Regions from separate parts of the Homo sapiens genome. Here region 1 is linked to region 2. Evidence: promoter capture Hi-C in 16 types of primary human blood cells and fetal thymus (Javierre and others, 2016). All regions are on one chromosome and are shown on one strand. Each heading gives the region's core, a stretch centred on a gene start or on the middle of the fragment in contact. The rest is flanking DNA. Distances are from core to core; before and after follow the strand shown.

What was found. The method cuts DNA at HindIII sites, captures the fragments that hold promoters and counts their contacts. A CHiCAGO score of 5 or more calls a contact.
Region 1: a fragment that was not itself captured here is called in contact with the fragment with the promoter of THAP5 in region 2 in 1 of 17 cell types (neutrophils); the score reaches 6.5 in neutrophils.

Annotation. Positions count from the first base shown.
Region 1 is chr7:98,256,402-98,262,510 of GRCh38, reverse strand. LOC124901706 (a long non-coding RNA gene) reads right to left here. Exons shown (of 2, transcript XR_007060448.1): 2 at 5,755-6,109. Among named protein-coding and RNA genes, the nearest start is that of TECPR1, 7.2 kb to the right of the region's middle. The HindIII fragment of the contact is 4,932 bases long and covers 1,273-6,109 here.
Region 2 is chr7:108,566,469-108,572,304 of GRCh38, reverse strand. THAP5 (THAP domain containing 5) reads left to right here and starts at 2,599. Exons shown (of 3, transcript NM_001130475.3): 1 at 2,599-2,815. The coding sequence starts at 2,736. DNAJB9 (DnaJ heat shock protein family (Hsp40) member B9) reads right to left here and starts at 2,431. Exons shown (of 3, transcript NM_012328.3): 1 at 2,202-2,431; 2 at 362-588. The coding sequence starts at 578. RefSeq lists enhancers at 2,276-3,003, 2,537-3,016. The HindIII fragment of the contact is 6,219 bases long and covers 1-3,542 here.

The sequences.
Region 1 (6,109 bases), core at 2,489-4,988, about 10 Mb after region 2:
ATGCAAGATCTGGTTTTTTTCTTTTTTCTTTTTAGCAGAGTCTCACTCTGTCACCCAGGCCAAGAAGGGTGGATCACCTGAGGTCAGGAGTGTGAGATCAGCCTGGCCAATATGGTGAAACCCCATCTCTACTAAAAATACAAAAATTAGTTGGGTGTGGTGGCGCACACCTGTAATCCCAGCTACTCGGGAGGCTGAGGCAGGAGAATCACTTGAATCTGGGAGGCGGAGGTTGCAGTAAGCTGAGACTGTGCCACTGCACTCCAGCCTGGGCAACAAGAGCAAAAGTCCATCTCAATAAATAAATAAGTAAATAAATAAATGGGAAGCAGAGCATAACAATTTGGAAATTTGCAGCCTGGTCATGTGGTAGGTAGAGAAGGAAAGAACATTTTCGGAGGTGGAATTCAAGGAGCTTGTGGAGCAATCATTTGGTAGAGAGATTTACATAACTAAAAGGGAGCCAAGTGCTAAGAGTCAAGAGATGGAAAACAGGCCTGGAAGCCATTTTGGAAGTCTTCAGGACAGCCCCTCCCATCACAGGCCCAGAGGCTTAGGAGGAAAGCATGGCTTCAGGGGCCAGGGCCAGGGCCAGGGCTCCACTGTCCTGTGCAGCCTCAGGACACTGCTTCCTATATTTTGGCTCTCCAGCTCCAGCCGCAGGCCAAAGGTCCCAGATCTAACTGAACTGCTATTCCTAAAGGCACAATCTGTAAGACTTGGCAGCTTCCACGTGGTGTTAAACCTGCAGGTGCACACAATGCAAGAGTGAAGGAGGCTTAACAGCTTCCACCTAGATGTCACAGGATGTATCAGAAAGCCCAGGTGCCCAGGCAGAAGCCTGCAGCAGAGATGGAGCCCCTGCAGAGAGACTCTACTAGGGGAGTGCTGAGGGGAAATGTGGGGTTGGATCCCACACATAGAGGCCCCACTGGGGCACTGCCTAGTGCAGCTGTGGGAAGGGGACCACTACTCTCCAGACCAGACCCAAGAAAGGTAGATCCACCAGCTGCTGGCATCCTCAGCCTGGAAAAGCCACAGGCAGCAGACTCTAACCTGGGAGAACAGTCATGGGGGCTCTCCCTTGACATGGAGTAAAGGGAGATTTAGCTTTAAGGCTTAATGTCTGCCCTGCTGGGTTTCAGACTTGCCTGGAGCCTGTTACCTCTTTCTGTTGGCCAATTTCTCCCTTTTGGAATGGGAATGTTTACCCATTGCTGGTACCACCATTGTATATTGGAAGTAACCAACTTGTTTTTTATCTTATAAGCTTTTATCTTACAGAGATTCTTCTGCCTCAGCCTCCCGAGTAGCTGGGATTACAGGCACTTGCCACCATGCCTGGCTAATTTTTGCATTTTTAGTAAAGATGGGGTTTCACCATGTTGAACAGGCTGGTCTCAAACTCCTGACTTCAAGTGATCCACCCACCTGCCCAGGCCTCCCAAAGTACTGGGATTACAAGGTCTTGCTATATTGCCCAGGTTGCAATGGCTATTCACCAGCAGAGTCCCACTACTGATCCGCACCTGGCTACTCAGGTGGCTGAGGCAGGAAGATTGCTTGAGCCCAGGAGTTTGAGGCTGTCATGTGCAATGATCACACCTGCACTTTGGCTTGGGCAATATAGTGAGACTGTGTCTCTAAAAACAAAAAAAGAAAAGCATTTACTAAAGATAATCTCTCTACAAAATGTGATTTGAAATATGTACATAATGGCTGGGTGCTGTGGCTCATGCCTGTAATCCCAACACTTTGGGAGGCTGTGGCGGGTGGATCACTTGAGGTCAGGAGTTTGAGACCAGCCTGGCCAACATGGCAAAACTCCGTCTCTACTAAAAATACAAAAATTAGCCAGGCATGGTGGTGAGCACCTGTAATCCCAGCTACCGTAGAGGCTGAGGCACGAGAATCACTTGAGGCAGAGGTCACAATGAGACGAGATCACGCCATTGCACTCCAGCCTGGGCGACAGCGAGACTGTATCTCCAAAAAAAAAAAAAAGAAAAAAGAAAAATGTAGGTAAAACCAAATTAATAAGTGTTATAAATAGACATGTATTATTTTCATTCTCAAGAAGTTGAGCCAACATTTATAAAATTATTTGAAGGAGTTTTGACCTATTTCATTTCCAGCCTATGATGGTTCATCCTTCCTCAGCAACCCAAGAATTCTGACTAGCTGTGTGAACTTAGGCAAGTTACTTTCTCTTTCCATTGACAGATGGGGCTGATAACAGCTACTGGGTCTGCCCTTACATGTGCTGAGCTCCAAGGAAGGCTCCCTCAAATAATCATGAGATCGCGCCACTGCACTCCAGCCTGGCGACAGAGTGAGACTCCGTCTCAAAAAAAAAAAAAAAAAAGTTAGTGGCTGGGTGCGGTGCCTCACGCCTGTAATCCCAGCACTTTGGGAGGCCGAGGCCGGCAGATCACAAGGTCAGGAGTTTGAGACCAGTCTGGCTCACATGGTGAAACCCTGTCTCTATTAAAAATACAAAAATTATCAAGGCGTGGTTGTGTGCGCCTGTAATCTCAGCTACTCGGGAGGCTGAAGCAGGAGAATCGCTTGAAACTGGAAGGCGGAGTTTGCAGTGAGCCAAGATCAGGCCACCACGCTCCAGGCTGGGCAACGAGAGCAAAACTCCATCTCAAAAAAAAAAAACAAAAAAATTAGCCAGGCATGGTGGTGCAGACCTATACTCCCAGCTACTCAAGAGGCTGGGATTAACCAGGCATAGTGGTGCAGACCTATACTCGCAGCTCCTCAAGAGGCTGGGGGTGGAGGATTGCTTGAGCCCAGGAGGTTGAGGCTACTGTGAACTATGATTATGCCACTGCACTCCAGCCTGGGTGACAGAGCGAGACCCCATCACACACACACACACACACACACACAAATCGTGTGATGCTGTCACTTGATAAGTTATCCCATTCATGTAAAATTAGGTGATTTGCTCCACCTCCCAGGCTCAAGTGATCCTCCCACCTCAGCCTCCCAAGTAGCTGGGACTACAGGCCCGCACCACCATGCCCAGCTAATTTTGTATTTTTTAGTAGAGACAGGTTTCACTATGTTGGCCAGGCTGGACCATATGTGCTTTGTAAAACCCTTCCTTAATTGTAAAACATAAGACACAGAGAAAAGCATATCAGACATAAATCTTGTGAATTATTGTAAAGCAAAACCTGACACCACCAAGGTCAAGCATGAGAATCTTGCCGGCCACGGCCAACCCTCTGTGTTCCTTTCCTGCCCCAAAGGCATCCACATCCTGGTTGTTGTAACATTATGCTAATCACCTCCTTGTCTTTATACATTTTTTTTTTTTGAGATGGAGTCTCGCTCTGTCGCCCAGGCTGGAGGGCAGTGGCGCCATCTCAGCTTACAGCAACCTCTGCCCCCTGGGTTTAAGCGATTCTTCTGCCTCAGCCTCCCAAATAGCTGGGATTACAGGCGCACACCACCACTCCCAGCTAATTTTTTGTATTTTTAGTAGAGATGGGATTTCACCATGTTGGCCAGGCTGGTCTCGAACTCCTGACCTTTTGATCCACCCACCTCGGCCTCCCAAAGTGCTAGGATTACAAGGGTGAGCCACCGCGCCTGGCCGTCTTTATACTTTTACTACCAAACATACACTCTCAAACACTATAATAAAGTTCTTGGCTGTTTTTGAAATTCACATGTCAATGGGATCACATATATTCTTTTGTGTTTGGTTTTTCTCTCCTTGGTGTATGTTCAAGACTCATTCATGTTGTTGCATTTAGTTGTACTTCATTGTTTTGTTACCAATAATATTACACTGTATTAGGTTGGTGCCAAAGAAATTGTGGTTTTTGTCATTACTTTTACTTATTTATTTATTTTAGAGGAGTCTTACTCTGTCACCCAGGCTGGGGTGCAGTGGTGTGGTGCGATCTTGGCTCACTGCAACCTCACCCCACCGTTGGGGTTCAAGTGATTCTCCTGCCTCAGCCTCCTGAGTAGCTGGGATTACAGGCATGCGCCACCATGCCCAATTAATTTTTGCATTTTCAGTAGAGATGAGGTTTTGCCATGTTGGCCAGGCTGGTCTCGAACTCCTGACTTCAGGTGATCCACCTGCCTCGGCCTCCCAAAGTGCTAGGATTACAGGCGTGAGCTACTATGCCTGGCCTTTTTTCTTTTTTTCTTTTTTCTTTTTTTTTGAGACGGAGTCTCACTCTGTTGCCCAGGCTGGAGTGTAGTTGCATGATCTCATCTCACTGCAACCTCCACCTCCTGGGTTCAAGCAATTTTCCTGCCTCAGCCTCCTGAGTAGATGGGATTACAGGTGTGTGCCACCATGCCCAGCTAATTTTTGTATTTTGAGCAGAGAGTTTTGCCATTTTGGCCAGGCTGGTCTCAAACTCCTGACCTCAAGTGATCTGCCCACCTCGGCCTCCCAAAGCGTTGGGATAACTGGTGTGAGCCATCGCACCCACCCTGTCATTACTTTTAATGGCCAAAACCACAAGTCCTTTTGCAGCAACCTAATGTGACTCCATCACACTGATCATGCATTCCACTACAGATGGACACCTGGGGCTGTTGTTACATAGAGAATGCTGGTAAGGTGTGTACGTACAGCACCTAAATCACTGCTGGGCCACAGCACAATCTTAGCTTCAGCTCTATGAGGTCATGTCACTGATTTCCCCAGTGATGGCACCAGCTCGTACTTCTACTCCCTTAGCCTGTCTGGCAGGCAACTCATTGTGGGTTTAATTTGCATTTTCCTGCTTATCGCTGTAGTTGAGCACTTCTTCATAAGTTTATTGACCATTTGTTTCTTTTTCTTCTTTCTTCTTTTTTCTTTCTTTTTTTTTTTTTTTTTGAGACAGAGTCTTGCCTTGTCACCCAGGCTGGAGTGCAGTGGCGCGATATCGGCTCACTGCAACCTCCGCTTCCCGGGTTCAAGCGATTCTCCTGTCTCGCCCTACCGAGTAGCTGGGACTACAGGCGCGTGCCACCACGCCCAGCTGATTTTTTTTATTTTTAGTAGAGACAGGGTTTCACCGTGTTGGCCAGGATGGTCTCAATCTCCTGACCTCGTGATCTGCCTGCCTCGGCCTCCCAAACTGCTGGGATTACAGGAGTGAGCCACCATGCCCGGCCCTTCTTTTTTCTTTTGAGACAGGGTCTTGCTCCATCACCTAGGCTGCAGTGCAGTGGTGCAATCACAGGTCGCTGCAGCTTCGACCTCCTAGGCTTAAGCGATCCTCTTGCCTCAGCCTCCCTAGTAACTGGGACTACAGACACGCACTACCACATCTGGCTAATTAAAAAAATGTTTTGTAGGGATAGAGGCTCACTTTGATGCCCAGGCTGGTCTCAAACTCCTGACCTGAAGTGATCCTCCCACCTCCGCTTTCCAAAACTCTGACGTTATAGGCATGAGCCATCATGCCGGGAGATTACTGGCTTTTATAGAGGCATAAGAGAATGTTGCGGAAGGTCACAACTGCTGCTCAGGTGCCATCAATCCTCAGGACCCTGTCTGCCTGGGATTTGCTATGGAAGGCTCAGCAGAGCAGAGACCAGGAGATGCTTCAGCTGTTCACAGGTCCTGCCTTTGGCGATGGTTAGCGGAATCTGTTTCTGTGCTGGAAAGAGAGCTGGCAAAGTTGGGGTGAGAAACATCACACTGGAATAGGTTAATTACATGAAATGAAACTCATTTGCGTAAATTATTATAAAACACAGCACAAGACATTTTAGGTACGATAATTGGTTTGACAAATTATATTTCTGGAGTCGAAATATACAGACATGTTCCTTGTGAAACATACAGGCGTAACACAGATTGTAGGTTGGTTTTGAACATACTGTGCAAGTTTACCATCACCAGAAGCTCCTCAAATTACTGTCAGGAGCAGTCATGTGGTGTTGTGCAGAGTAACGTACAAAGCGAGCTTCCAGCCGCTGGTAAATACAGAGACCATATGGATGCCTACTGGGACTTCCATTAAACATTAGGGACTTCAATTAAAGGGAGATAGCAAGTTTTATCTTGTTTGCTGGAGAGTAGATTCTGTTGAGCCAGGGACCTGGACTTTTCTTTGTCTACTCCTGATCCTTGTTA
Region 2 (5,836 bases), core at 1,350-3,849:
TTAAGTCTTTAATGTTTAAAATGTAAAATATTCTGTTTCATAAGTTAGTTGATAAGAATTTTGGGTACCTAAAATTCTTTTTTGTCATAGAAGCAACAGTGATCTTATAAATAATATAGAATAGATTTTCAATATTTTTAGATACGTATACCAATAAAATTATCTATTATTCTTTCATATATTTATTCAGGAATCAAAGCATCTGTGATAAGAAAATAATCTCAGAGAATCACCCAATATTTATACATAAATCCCACTCCACCTCCCATCTCCACAAAACCTTCAAATACAAACACTTCTTAGCTATCATTCTCCTTACTAGTTAATACCCATGACACTTCAGAGATTGTCATTTATTTACCTTCTGCAATCTCTCTGAATTTTGCTTCAGCATCCGGGCTCTTATTTTTGTCAGGGTGGTACTTCATGGCCAACTTGTGAAAGGCCTTCTTGATTTGGCGCTCTGATGCCGATTTTGGCACACCTAAGATATCATAGTAGCTTTTTGAGGCCAGAATTAATTCTGTTATCATTAAAATGCAGATTGCAAAGATGAAAATTGACTGGGGAGTAGCCATTTCTAATATCCTAAAACAGAAAAGAAAAAAAAATGTTATGGATGGAGCTAATCTTAAAACGTTTTTCTTTTAAAAGAAATCCAACACAAGGTAAACCTAATGCAGTATCAAAATAGTAAGCATACAGTATCTATTACCTGTCCACATGTAATTTCACTTTTAGTTTTATAACTCTCAAACTGGCTTAACCTTATTGAGAACAAAAATAATTCTTGGCTTTGTCTGTCTACTAATACTCTGGCCATACACAGAGGAGATAGAAAATTATCAATAACTGACTTTTAACCAGTTTATATTGAAGATTCATCATATGCAAGCATTGTAAGAAAAAAAAAGAAAACCAAATAATATAAGATCCCAACTTTCCTTTCAAGACTTCATATCCTGAAAGTAATAATGTATTTAACTTCACAGAAAAAAAAAACATTAAAAAAAAAAGGTGGCGCACCAAGGTAAATAGCCCAGTATATCTAAATTAGTATTATTAATCTCGCTCCAAAAATTCAGCTTTCATTTCAGCAGGTGAGCCAAGGACTGCAAATAGAGAATCTTAATATCACAATACTAATACTGACAATACAATAGAATGTTGTCTTTTTCCCAAATGTAAGATCCCAAATGTTTAACCAGGAAGCATGGCTAAATATTGTTTAAAACTCATGATGAACAGAATTTAAGATTTCTGCTAAAGCTGCCAGAAAAATGAACTTTGATAGTTTGTACTGTGGTTAAGGCAGATTCTTACTTTCACAAACTCAGTAGTTAAAATATTTCTTTTACCTTTAAACCATTAAAGAAATGTTAACTTAGAATTCTTGACAATATGTATTCAATGACTTGAGATTCAAAACGAAGGGATGGATCCTGTTTTTTGAATACGGGACCACCAGAGTCCTTAGTAACCTATAATGCCATAATAAGGCTGACGAAAAACACTACGGTTTGTGGAAATTGCCTGGCTTCCTCTCCAGCGGCCTTTCCTGAGAGTAATTAGCAGGCAGGTAGATTACTTATTTCCAGAGAGTTACTCGTAGTCACGGGTACCAAGAATCAAGAACCACTTCTCGGTTTAAGGAACACAACAGTGTGTCCCATGGACGCTGCGTCAACTGCAGGTTGCTCCCTAGTCAAAGGGCGGATCTAAAACTGACAGGGAGGCGCCTCACTGGTTCAGCAGACGTTATTCCACGGTCTCAAGGTGGACATCTAATGATTTTTTTTTAGCAGACTAGTTTTGTATTGTACAGACTTCTCATCCCCAAGACGGCCCCGCCAGCCAGCAGCCCGTGCCTTATTCCCCAGCCTCGGTGGGCGGCTGGGCTAGACCCTCCAACCTTCACCTAAAGGCGACTGGCACTTTCCCTGCCCGCCCAGGCCCCGCCGCAGAAGCTGCCCGAGACCCGGGCTCTAATCCGGCGCCCGTGAAAGCCGGCGCCACAACCCAAAACACGATTCTGTGATGCGGCTGTCTCCGTTCTTCCATTCTCTCGGCCAAAAACATGCAGCCCATTGTCCCTGCGGCGACCGTGGCGGACACCGAGGCCAAGTCAGCTCACAAAGACAGGCCTGGGCTACGGGGACCCTCCGAACTCCCCTCCCCACGACCCCGGCCTCGTCCCTCACCTGCACCCTCCGACTACTGCTGCTCCTCCACAGAGCTGAGGCGCTGGCGACCCTGACGATCGGCTCGGGTCGGCAGCTTGGGCCCGGCCCCTCACCGCGGCCTCCCGGAGCTGGCACGCACCCTAATCTCGGTCGTACACCGACCTAGCGCTCCTCCTTCCCCGCCGGCGCCCAGTCCCCTCTCAGCCAGCTCCTCACAGGCAGGAGGTAGCCGCTGGCGCCACCACCTCAGAAGACCTACACGAAACGCTTCCCCATTGGCTTCTGCCTCCCCACGTGATCCCGGCGCCCTACGCGCACGTGGAAAACTGTTGTTGCTGCTAGGGCTGTGCGCCACTTCCGGCTTCAACCCCCGAAAAGGCGGTGCTTAAACCGGAGGAGGCGGAAGTGAGTCGACAGACGAGGCGGCTTTCCCGGCAGAATGCTAGCGCAGGCGCAGGGGCTCGAGAGGCCTGGACCTGTGGCGCATCCTCAGTGAGGAGGGCCGCCCTGCATCCGTCGCCGGCCCCGGTCTCCAGGGGCCTCACCCGAGTCATGCCCCGCTATTGCGCAGCGATTTGTTGTAAGAACCGCCGGGGACGAAACAATAAAGACCGGAAGCTGAGTTTTTATCCGTAAGTTGTTTCTGGAGCAGAAGCGTCAGCCTCGCCGTGAGGCCTTGGACCTGTGGCCTTTGGGCTTGGGTGTCTCCTGTCCGCTCTGCCAGTGAGTCCTCAGCTCTCCGTACGTGGCCCGTCGCCCGCGGCAAGACGGAGGGAAGGCGCTAGTTCAGTTTAGCTAGCAATGCCCTTCTTGCGCGAGGACTGCTGGCTGGTGGCGAGGCCCAGGAGCCTGTTTGGGTGTTAACAGTTAAAACAGTAAAGTTTGCGCGGGCTTCTGTGGTTTTCAGTCTTTTCCCCACTTCACGTGATCTCATTTCATTGAACAACATTAACCACCATTTAAGATACGTGAAACCTGCGAAGTGGAAAGGTGCACGCAAAGTTAATTTACACCCCCCGCGAGGTAGGTCGCATAGGTATAATTTCATCCCACTTTTCTCCTGAGGAAACTGAGGCCCGGAATGATTAGGTAACCGACCTTGAAAGTTTAGTGTCAGAGCCAGAATTATAAACTAGTCTTCTGCTTAGGGCTGTAGATACTCTGCGGAGAACAAGGTTTTATTCTGTTACTCTGAATTACTAGAGCCACGATATATTTCCATCAAACTACTGAAGCACTGATTTTTATTCAGAAGTACAGACAAGCAGTGTCGTATAATAATTAGGGGTCCAGGCTTCAATGCTAGATCCTGGTTCCACTATTCTGTAGCTTAATGACCTCTTGGAAAGTATTTAAGCTTTGGTGTCTCACATATCTCATCTGTAACATGGAGATGTTAATAGTACTCACATGATTAATAACACATGAAAAGCAACATATTTAAAATACTGCATTTCCATTTTTTCTTGTATTTAAAAACAATTCATTTAGATCTAACCTGGTTCAGATTTTCAGCAGTTGTTTTGTGCTCATTTTACTTTAGACCTGAAGGACTTATTCATTAATGATTCGGCTGCTTTCCAGTATTTTAATTAATGGAAAAAAAATTGATAACCCCACCAGGCGCGGTGGCTCACGCCTGTAATCCCAGCACTTTGGGAGGCTGAGGCGGGCAGATCACCTGAGGTCGGCAGTCTGAGACCAGCCTGACCAACATGGAGAAACCCCGTCTGTACTAAAAATACAAAATTAGCTGCGCGTGGCGGCGCATGCCTGTGATCTCAGCTGCTCGGGAGGCTGAGGCAGGTGAATCGCTTGAACCTGGGAGGTGGAGGTTGAGGTGAGCCGAGATCACACCATTGCACCACAGCCTGAGCAACAAGAGCGAAACTCCGTCTCAAAAGAAAAAAAAACTGATAACCCCAAGTAATTCACAATCCATGGCAATATTTCCAGGATTGTCTCCCTTGAAGCCCAGCCTCAAGATGCAAAGAGATGTTTGGGGGAGGAAAACAATCTAATCCACTTTCAGTTTATAGGGAAATACTACTGTACTAATGGCTCTATCTCTGAGAATGTTTGTAGCAAAAGATCATGTTGAACTTGATTTAACCCCGTATTTCCCAGATTTATTTGGCCTTTGATATTGGAGATGGGGTATAACCCCACACTGAAATTTTTAACTAAACTTTGTGGACCTTACAGTAACTTTTTAGGAAGGAAAAAATAATGCAAGTGAATTGTAAAGATTTTTTTCACTGAAAATGTGAATTTAGTAAAAGTTGTATTATTTCTAGGGTTTTTAAAAAATTTTCTTGTGTAATCCACAAAATAAAAATTGAATTAGTTTTATTCTCCAGTAGCGTCAAACTTGAATTGAATTTGCTCATGTTAACACTACAGCAAACTGTAGTTTAAATGTATATGAATTTGGGAATTCAGTTAATATAGTGTCCAGTTTGTACTGTGATTATCTTATGCCTTTTGGGGAATTACATAAGACAATGAAACAAAATTATCAAATGAATTGAACCAATATAAAGACATAATTTATTCAGGAAACATGATCAAGATTTCTTAGAGATTTACCTATTGAAGCAATACAATCCAGTAAACAATAAGGATATTCACAAAGTTTTTTTTAATGAGTTGATAACTTAGCATATAGGTACAATGGAAATAATTTGCAAACAGCATCCATATACATGAATTTACAGTAAAAAGCATTATTGTAAAAGGCCTATTCTCATTTCAGTTGTAACAAAAGAAATGAATTTACCAATGGCCAGAAGAAGTCAGGTCCTCTAAAAGAAAATTTGTCTGCCTTTAAAATTCCTTTTCTGGTTATGCTTGTCATACTTACAACCTAATATTTGTAAAGTTAAAATATTTTTAAAACATGATTAATATTGCTTCTGTGGTTGGAATTTCCAAAGGTAGTTTATCTGATTTTTTTCCGTATGAGGATATCAGGATTAAAAGTTATATCTTACAGAGTACCCAGACTTTCCATGGCATCTTAAAAAGTTACCAGAATTTAGGGGGAAAAAATGATGCTACTACAAAACATAAGCTAAATGATTGGGATTGCGGGAAGGGAGTGTATAACAGCTACATTTTATATGAGAAACCTTATATTGTTACTATTTTTAAAAACAGGAAATTATGTGGTGTCTTGGACTCTGTTCTTGGAAAAGTACCAAATGGAATATAAACCATTTTCAAATATTGTTTTGTATACCTTGACCCAAACCTTTTTAGATTGATAGGAAAAATTTTCTATCAAATTCTGCCATACACTGTAATGTTAGCACCAACTTTAAATCCAGGTTATTGTCAGGTACAGGAACAAAATGTATACAGCGCTGTCTTGCCATTTGTATTTGATTTGTTTCATATAAAATATCTGAGACTGTCCCTTTTAACATGTTCCATTCTTTTCTTCTATCAGTTTCTCCTTCAGAACTTGAAATTTGGAGTTCCCAGTTCATTGGTTATAGAAGTGTAGTACTATTAGACTAGATTACTTATAGATAGAATTAAAGATGATGCTAGTAAAGAGAATATTTTCAGTACTTTTTCAGCTAAATCATTTGTTTGAAATAACATCTTATTTTTTAAATATTAAATAAGATTGTAAAGCTTAATACTGC